Linked DNA regions of Homo sapiens: regions 2 and 3 are each linked to region 1. Evidence: promoter capture Hi-C in 16 types of primary human blood cells and fetal thymus (Javierre and others, 2016). All regions are on one chromosome and are shown on one strand. The core of a region is centred on a gene start or on the middle of the fragment in contact, and the rest is flanking DNA. Distances in the headings are between cores, read along the strand shown.

The links. The method cuts DNA at HindIII sites, captures the fragments that hold promoters and counts their contacts. A CHiCAGO score of 5 or more calls a contact.
Region 2: a fragment that was not itself captured here is called in contact with the fragment with the promoter of ARX in region 1 in 1 of 17 cell types (M2 macrophages); the score reaches 5.8 in M2 macrophages.
Region 3: a contact is called between the fragment with the promoter of POLA1 here and the fragment with the promoter of ARX in region 1, in 2 of 17 cell types (fetal thymus and monocytes). The highest score is 5.5, in fetal thymus.

Annotation. Positions count from the first base shown.
Region 1 is chrX:25,014,521-25,017,220 of GRCh38, reverse strand. It overlaps ARX (aristaless related homeobox), which reads left to right and starts at 1,256. Exons shown (of 5, transcript NM_139058.3): 1 at 1,256-1,679. The coding sequence starts at 1,484. The HindIII fragment of the contact is 5,488 bases long and covers 1-2,177 here.
Region 2 is chrX:24,732,471-24,735,170 of GRCh38, reverse strand. POLA1 (DNA polymerase alpha 1, catalytic subunit) reads right to left here. Exons shown (of 37, transcript NM_001330360.2): 17 at 1,355-1,416. Among named protein-coding and RNA genes, the nearest start is that of POLA1, 40 kb to the right of the region's middle. The HindIII fragment of the contact is 700 bases long and covers 1,085-1,784 here.
Region 3 is chrX:24,692,540-24,695,239 of GRCh38, reverse strand. It overlaps POLA1 (DNA polymerase alpha 1, catalytic subunit), which reads right to left and starts at 1,322. Exons shown (of 37, transcript NM_001330360.2): 1 at 1,236-1,322. The coding sequence starts at 1,278. RefSeq lists an enhancer at 1,061-1,150 and a silencer at 1,341-1,500. The HindIII fragment of the contact is 2,747 bases long and covers 1-2,482 here.

The DNA.
Region 1 (2,700 bases), core at 7-2,506:
CTTTTCTCTTTGACACATTGAAGGGAGTTGAGAGAGGAAAACCCGGCGTGGATTCCCCCTCCCTGGCCCCTCTCTCACCCACCACCTTCGCCCCAATTCTGCCAGCGTTGGGGCCCCTGGAAATCCCTGGGAACCTGCACCCAGGCAGGGAAGGCGTCCGTGCTGGCCCAGGCTCGACCCAACATCAGTTGGAGTTGGGTTTTAGTTCTCGGCGCTGGAAACTGTTTGGGAAGAAAGGCGCTCTCTCTAAGGTTCACTCTCTCACCTTTGCTCAAGGGAGCCAGGTCATGAGAATTCAGAATTTTAGACGCTTAGATTTGGCTGCAGCCGAATTTGGGTTCCTTCCACCCTGGAGAGGTCAGGGATCCCTGAGGGTTCTGCTCCCTAGCTGCGATTGGAAGGTGAACAGCCTCAGGGTGAAGGCCTAACAGATACGAATTTGTGGGGGAAAGAGGGAAGAGAGTCCAGGGAGAAAGAGGAGGCCCCCAGACTCGTCCCCAGTCGCCCCTCCTCGCTGCTGATACTCGCCTGTCCCTTCCCACCCAGTAAATGCTCTAGGGAAGGCCGCGCGCCTATGGCAGAGCTTTGTCTGTAAGGAGGCTTTTTCCCATTCCAGAGTTTAAAACGGAGAGGAGAGCGGTTGGGGGACGCTACAAACAAGAGAGACACAGTCGGGCTCAGGGTGAAGATAGACAGCGCAATGCCTTGGGCCGCAAGAGAAAAGCGAACTCCCAGACGGCAGATGTTTGCTTGGGGCGGTCACCCTGGCCCCCCGACGCCCGTCCGGCCTAGAGAGGACGGCAATTGAGCGCCAGGGAGGTCAAGGCGGTGTCCTGGGAGCCCAATATCGGCTTTGAAAAGTGCCGAGTGAGTCTGAACGTGAGCCTCGAGGCCTCGCCTCCAGGGAGCGAGGTCCTCGGGTTGGTGGAAGGGGCGCACGCCACCCAGATGGCATTCACAGGCCTGGCATCCCAATAAGCTAGAACTTCGGCCAACACTAAAGGGTCAAAGGAGGAGCTGCAGGAAGAGGATAGCGGACTTAGAAAATTGGTAACTTAAAAAAAGAAAGAAAGAAAAGGAAAATTGGCTCTGGTGCGTGCCCGCTGCCCCCACCCCCGCCTGCCCCTCTGGAATCCAGTCCGGGCTTTGCGCCGCGCCCACAGGCCGACGCAGCCCGGCCTCTGGCGAGAGCCAATCAGAGGGCGCCTCTCAGCACGTGGAGGAGAGAGACTCCAGAGCTCAGCGCCCGCTGCTCACTACACTTGTTACCGCTTGTCCTGAGCGCGGAGAGGGCGAGCTCGGGCCGCGGGCAGGGCGGGAGCCGGCAGCCGGCAACCAAGGGAGGCAGAAAGGCACAAAGATCGCAATAATATCCGTTATAACCCGCTATCTAACCCCACCCCCAACACACACCCATCCATCCCACCCTCCGGGAGAGGCAGCCGGCGATCCGCTCTCTGCGCCCTGGGAAAAAGCCCCAGCCATGAGCAATCAGTACCAGGAGGAGGGCTGCTCCGAGAGGCCCGAGTGCAAAAGTAAATCTCCAACTTTGCTCTCCTCCTACTGCATCGACAGCATCCTGGGCCGGAGGAGCCCGTGCAAAATGCGGTTGCTGGGAGCCGCGCAGAGCTTGCCTGCTCCGCTGACCAGCCGCGCCGACCCGGAAAAGGCCGTGCAAGGTAAGGATGCTCCCGTCAGGCACTTACTAAGGGCATTGGGCCCTGATTTGGATGTTTGGTGTTCGGGGGCCAGTGGCCTGGAATTGTCAATTTGGAGAGGAAGGAAGGAGAGGGCATAACTCTGAGGCCTGCTGCCTCAAAGAGCGTTAAACATCTAGCCAGGGCTGTCTCTCCCTCCCTCCCTCCCTGCTTCCAGAAAAAGGCCCGTTTTCGCTTAGGGAGCCTTTAGCTTTTCGGTGTTGATCGTTAGGTTGTTTAAATGCCCCTTTTGGTGGCCTTGGGTGTGCTCTGAAGAGCGGCGACAGGTCAGAAACAGTAGATGGCCGGTGGACCCTTGTAGCACCAACTTGATGAAGACAAGAAGCCCAAAAGCTGGTGAATCGGGGTCTCCAGGCTGAGTGAGCCTTGGCCTTTCCTCTTTGGAAGATTTCTGTATATGCAATGTTTTGGTTTTATTTTTTTAATTGCAGATTACTTGTGACCTTTTAAACCCAAGCTTTGCAGAAAACATCTTCCTGGGATTCTCCAAATGCTCCTTAATGTATTTAAAATGTATGAAATGTGTGACTTCTGGATGCTAATTTTTTCTCTGCTATTTTATTTTTTAAAATAGACGAGCTGTTTAAAATATTTTATTTTTTTCTGAAATTAAAAATTCCAGAACAAATGTCCTTTTACCCCGAACCTGTTATCCTCAAGTTTCGCCTCGAGCTTGCTGCAGAGGTGTCGCAGGGAAAGGAAAGAACTGTTGGTTTCTTTTAAAATCCAAAAACCAGCGGTCCGGCCATAGCGCAATTTGGATGGCAGGAGCAGACGGTTGAGAAGGGGGCATTTAAATAAAACTGACTTTTTTCTTTTCTTTTTTTAGCCTGCAGTGGCACCTATGCCAGGCGCTTCCTCAAAAGGAAGGAGCGGCCTGCGCCTGCTGCACTCCCACTCCCTCTCTGCCCCAGACCTTTCCCAGAACATTTTTGCCAGGATGATTTTTCTTTGCCTTTTTGTGCAAGAAGCCCCCCCACCC
Region 2 (2,700 bases), core at 185-2,684, 280 kb after region 1:
AGTGCTGAGCAACATAAAATATAGAAATGTCCCTCCACAGGGACATGCTTGTGCATCTGGACACATTTAGAGCATATGAATCAGAGTACCTATCAAAAACATTACTTTCCTATATAATCCCTGGTAGACTTCACTGTTTATGTATTTACTGGGCAAAGAAATCCCAAGGATTGTATAAAATAATCCCAAATGGTAAGATGAGAACTGATAAATAAGAAACTAGACTAAAAACAAACATATTTAAGAATTATAAGTGGCTGGGCGCAGTGGCTCACACCTGTAATCCCAGCACTTTGGGAGGCTGAGGCGGGTGAATCACTTGAGGTCAGGAGCTTGAGACCATCCTGGTCAATATGGTGAAACCCTGTCTCTACTAAAAATACAAAAATTAGCTGGGCGTGGTGCCACGAGCCTGTAATCCCAGATACTCAGGAGGCTGAGGCACGAGAATCCCTTGAACTAGGGAGTGGAGGCTGCAGTGAGCCAATATCACGCCAATGCACTCCAGCCTGGGCAACAAAGCGGGACTCCGTCTCAAAAAAAAAGTCGGTTTGACTCTAATGGAATTTTCCTAGGTCATTTTACCTGGTTAGGTAATTCACGGCACTTCACAAATAATAGCCTAATCTAACAGTACCTCCCAACTACTGGACTTCTCAAGCCAATTAAATAAAATAAGTAGAACCTGACAAGGTTGCTTACTTTTGTCAGATGAAGACATTAAAAAACAAAACAAACCTAAAAACGTATCAATATCATCACTTCGTAAAAGAAACAACATACAATCCATAAAAGAAAATTCTTTTAATTGAATACATTTACCTTTGTGAAAAATTCACTACATTATACTACTTCCCACTCCTCCCCATTTTATTAAGGACCCATGAAAACTTCTTCATGGAGCACGCTGGAATTTAGAGATCACTGATCCATTTTGGCCAACCCCATGTCAACTTTGTCAATACATGGCTCTTTAACGTCCACAGTATTCCCAACTTCATTTAGCTTCCCTCAAGCTGGGGAGGGACTCTACCCAACACCTTCCCAAAACAGGAATCATATGATCATGCATTTTAGAGAAGCTTCTAATTAAGCTATTGGAGGGGGGTTTGAGCCTATCCAACCACCAATACAGTACAGAATCCCATTATTTTCAGGTAGTAAAACATTTAAACATTGTTAAATAATGCTTCTAGGTGTATGTCTAATACATTTTAATGGGTCGATGTCATAGTCCAATCTGGCAGGAATGAATCTAATAAAATATAAAACACCTTTTTTCTACTAGTCCATACCACCCCCCTTTTCTTTCTCGCTCCAAACAAACAGGTGCTTCATATAATGAGCACTTTACCTTTTTCTCAATGACTTCTTTGAAAGCATATGGAAAAATACAGTCCTTTGGTTTAGACACAACTGTAAAAAGGAAAAAAAATAAAGATTCCAACACCCATCTTAGTCTAATTTCAGGTAATCATATAGTACATGTTTCCAAACGAAACTGTCTTAAATATATTCCCCCCAACCCTAAAGAATTAGGAGGGTCATCAAATACTTCCACTGGTCATGTTGATGACCTCAAAAGAATGGTCAAGCACAGAACCCTAAGTCCCTGCAGTTGTTAAAACTGCTTTGATGAAACATTTGCTATCTATCCACTGAAGCCAGAATGGAAGATTTTAGCAGTCTTCCTCAAAGGAAATCCCACCACCACCAATGCCGCAAGCAACATACAGCGGAGAAACTCAGTTCAGCCTTCTGAAAAGGTAAAATTGACCAAAGCTTCCCCTATTACACACTGTAAGTTCCTTACCATACACAACAGCTGTTCACATAGTGACGTACATAGAGGAAGTGAATAAATGCGTGTTGAAATGAACTCATGATTGCTCTCTTCTACATATTTTCCAGGCTATTCTCATCACCATTTTGTTCCATGTGTTCCACCCACTTAAGGGGGAAAACTTCACAACAATCATATCTCATACTCCCTTCTCTGCATGTTTTAGTCCTACTTTCCTAACACCCAAGAAAACCAGACGAGAGGCTCGCCAAGTTAATCTCTGCTTCTGGGCTGAAAAAGATCCCAGGAAATATAATAGGTCAATGGTATTATTCCCTTTTTTAAAAAACAGCAAAATGCTTAGGTAACTGGCCAAGCTCTCAACATGGAATATATCAGAATCCTCCTTGGAGACTGACTCATAAAACACATATGCAGAACTTGGTGGAATTGTTTCATCCATTGAATTTTATGCATAGCACAACCCAACTCCAATTCTTATTACTATAACTCCTCCCAAATAGGTAAATATTTATTCCTTGGCATCTTGCCTCATCACACAGAAAACTTTGATCAAGCTTCTATGATAGGCTATTAGAATGACATCAGAAAATAAAGTCTAATTTTGACCCAGGAAAAAACTACTCAACCTCAGTAGAGCAACCATTGAAACAAAAAAAAGATGTCAAATAGACTCCAGACTTCTCCTAGAAAAAAAAAAATGAACCAGCTGAATAGGAGGCAACCAACCCAATAAAACTTAGTTTCCATGGCAAAAAAAAAAAAAACAAAAAAAAACAAAACCCTCTTTAACAATATGCACTATTCTTGAAAACAATTTTTGAAAAACAAGTTACTGATCCAATAGCTGGAGAAAAAATAAGGAAATTCAAATCAAGCTGTTAGTAAGCCAGCTT
Region 3 (2,700 bases), core at 73-2,572, 320 kb after region 1:
CTCTATCCTCCCCAAAAGCAGACAGACACTAGCTTACAGCAGTCTTTCAGGTAACAATCCTTCAGTCTGCTCTAAAGGAAAAATTCCAGTCACAAGTCCCCAGCAACTACTTAATGAACACCATGACCTAAGAGGAGTCTCAAGATTGCACAGTATCCTCCAAAGTGATTTCCTGATGTTCATAGATGACGTAGTTTTTAGGATGAAGAAAGGGCTTAGTGGCAAATCACTGATAGAGGCCTGCAAAGACTGTTCGTTCACATACTTACACCCAACATCCTATCTGTAATCCAGGCAGGTCGACTCTCCAAAATAGTCTTAAAAAACGAACGGCTAGAACAAATTGAAATCTGTGACTCACAACTAGGTGAATGCAAAGGAAGCTGATTAGGAAGCGAGTTCTCATTAATGGTGATGTATCTGAATGACAGGAGAGGTGACGCTTGAGCTAACAAAGTGAAGCATCTGATTTTAAGTTAGAAGTTAACTGAAGTCACGCTTTAGTTGAACACTTAAAAAATCAGACAAATCTATTTGCATTTTTGTATTCTATTTTTGGAAATAAAAGACACCCCTGACAAACGGAGTGATATACAGGGGATCCGAAATGCCCTAAATTGATGCCATTTTTTTGAAACTTCACCAGGAATGACTAGATTGTGAACAGGATTTCTACGCAGCACTTGAAGAACTTTCCAAAGAATCTGAAAGAAAAATTGTTAATGCATAAAGTAGAAACCCATTACCTAAAAATACAAAACGCGTTATTCCCCGATGACAGCACTTAGAGCTTTCTTTCCTGCTTAGTTACAATGTATAAAATTTTCCTGGAAGTTCCTACAAAAAGGGACACAGATCTGTTCTGTTCAAGCCTTCAAGTGGATACTTAGGGAGATCGCAGTGAAATACTTTCGGCCCCACGGGGCCAGTCTCAATAAAGTTATACCCAGCACGTGGGTGCAACTCACCAAAAGAAATAGAAACGCAATCGACTGTGGAGACTCTCAGTGGCAGAGGTGAGACAGCCTCCCAAACAAAAATCCCTCCAGGCTCTGGTCCTCCAAGAGCAAACCGCGCCTAAAGGAAGCCCGGTCCGACGCCAGAAGGGCCCCCGCCGGGGACGACCAAGGTCTGCGCCCAAACAAACCCGGGTGTGCGCCTCCCTCAGAACCCCCACCACCGGCAATCATGCCACTGTCCCAACCCGGAGCCCCGCGCGCGGAATTGTCCCTCACCACTCGCCCCTATCTCACAGTCGTCGCCGTGCACAGGTGCCATGGTCCCGAATCTCCCGATTCCGCGCCAACCAGCCCAAAACTGGCGCGGGGGCCGAGACAGGCGCCAGCCTGAAAGCCAATCAGCGGCTCGGGAGGCTGCGGACTTCCGGCCGGAAGGCCACTGACGTGCCGCGCCGCGCCGCGCTCCGCCCCCGGCCTTCCCGCGGACGCGCGTTTGGCGCCCTGTGATGACCCCTTAGGGAAAAGCTAGAGCTGAGGGGAAGCCGGAGGAGAGCAGGAGAAAGAAGCGGTCGGGCGCTGGAAAGGAGCCGCCTGGAGACTGCGCAAGCGCACGCATGCTGATGGGAAAAGATTTGGGCGCGTGGGAGAAAGGGCGCTCTGGTTCTCAGAGCCCATTTTCCCGGAAAGGAGGCGCGGGCGGGCAGGAGAGTGGGCGTGGTTGGATCGTTTTCCCCAGAGCCGGGAAAGCGACTGCCTCCTGCTGCGCGCCCTGAATTTTGCCTGATAGTTTGCTTCTCAGCAGTCTGGATACAGTGGCTGTGTGATTAACAACTTAAAGATATATGCTCCGTCTTAACCAAATAACCAGAAGTAGCATTACCAATAAATGGCCATCTGATCTCATATGCCTCCTGATGTAATGCGTATGAAAAAGGAAAAACTTCGCCTATATGGTCTTCTTGCAAAAAATGTCTAACCTGAATCTAACCATGAAGAAACAATCAGATGTATTCAAAATGTAGGACAATCTACAAAACACCTGACGTGAACTCCAAAATTTCAATGTTATGAAAAACAAAAAGGGTATTCAATTTTTGTGTATGATACAATGGCTGTAATGTGTACATCTCATGTTATCTCTTTCCAAAAAGGTATAACATTTTTATTAAATAATGCCTGCCACACATTTGTATTTTTTCCTACATTATTGCCCACATGCTTATTGATCCCTTCTTCATGTGACAACAATTTTGTAATATTTTCTCCAAAGAGGATATAAAGATAATTCAATCTGTCTTCTAGCATGGTTGATCAATACTTGTTTCTTAATTTCTGATTGTTTAGAAAATGTCTTTCAGCTTCATAATCATTTAATATCATGTTATGTGATCCATATGTTGTGATACATAACATGTAGTAATTTACACTTAGACATAACTTCCTATTTAAAGTACTACGACAGATTTATTCCTACACTTCCCTTTTAAAAACTGATGGAAGTTTTATAGTTTTATTATCAAGCTTTTTCCAACCAGGAGAGAACCATGTTGGCTAGTCATTAATAAGAACCAAATCCTTACCTTAACAATTTCACAGCTGATTACTTCCCACATGCCCGGGTATAACTCTAGGCATTTCAAACCTCTTTTCTCTTTCACTACTGCTGTGGTCTGAATGTTTCTCTCCACATAAAATGTATGCGTTGAAACCTAATCACCAGTGTGGTGGTGTTAGGAGGTAG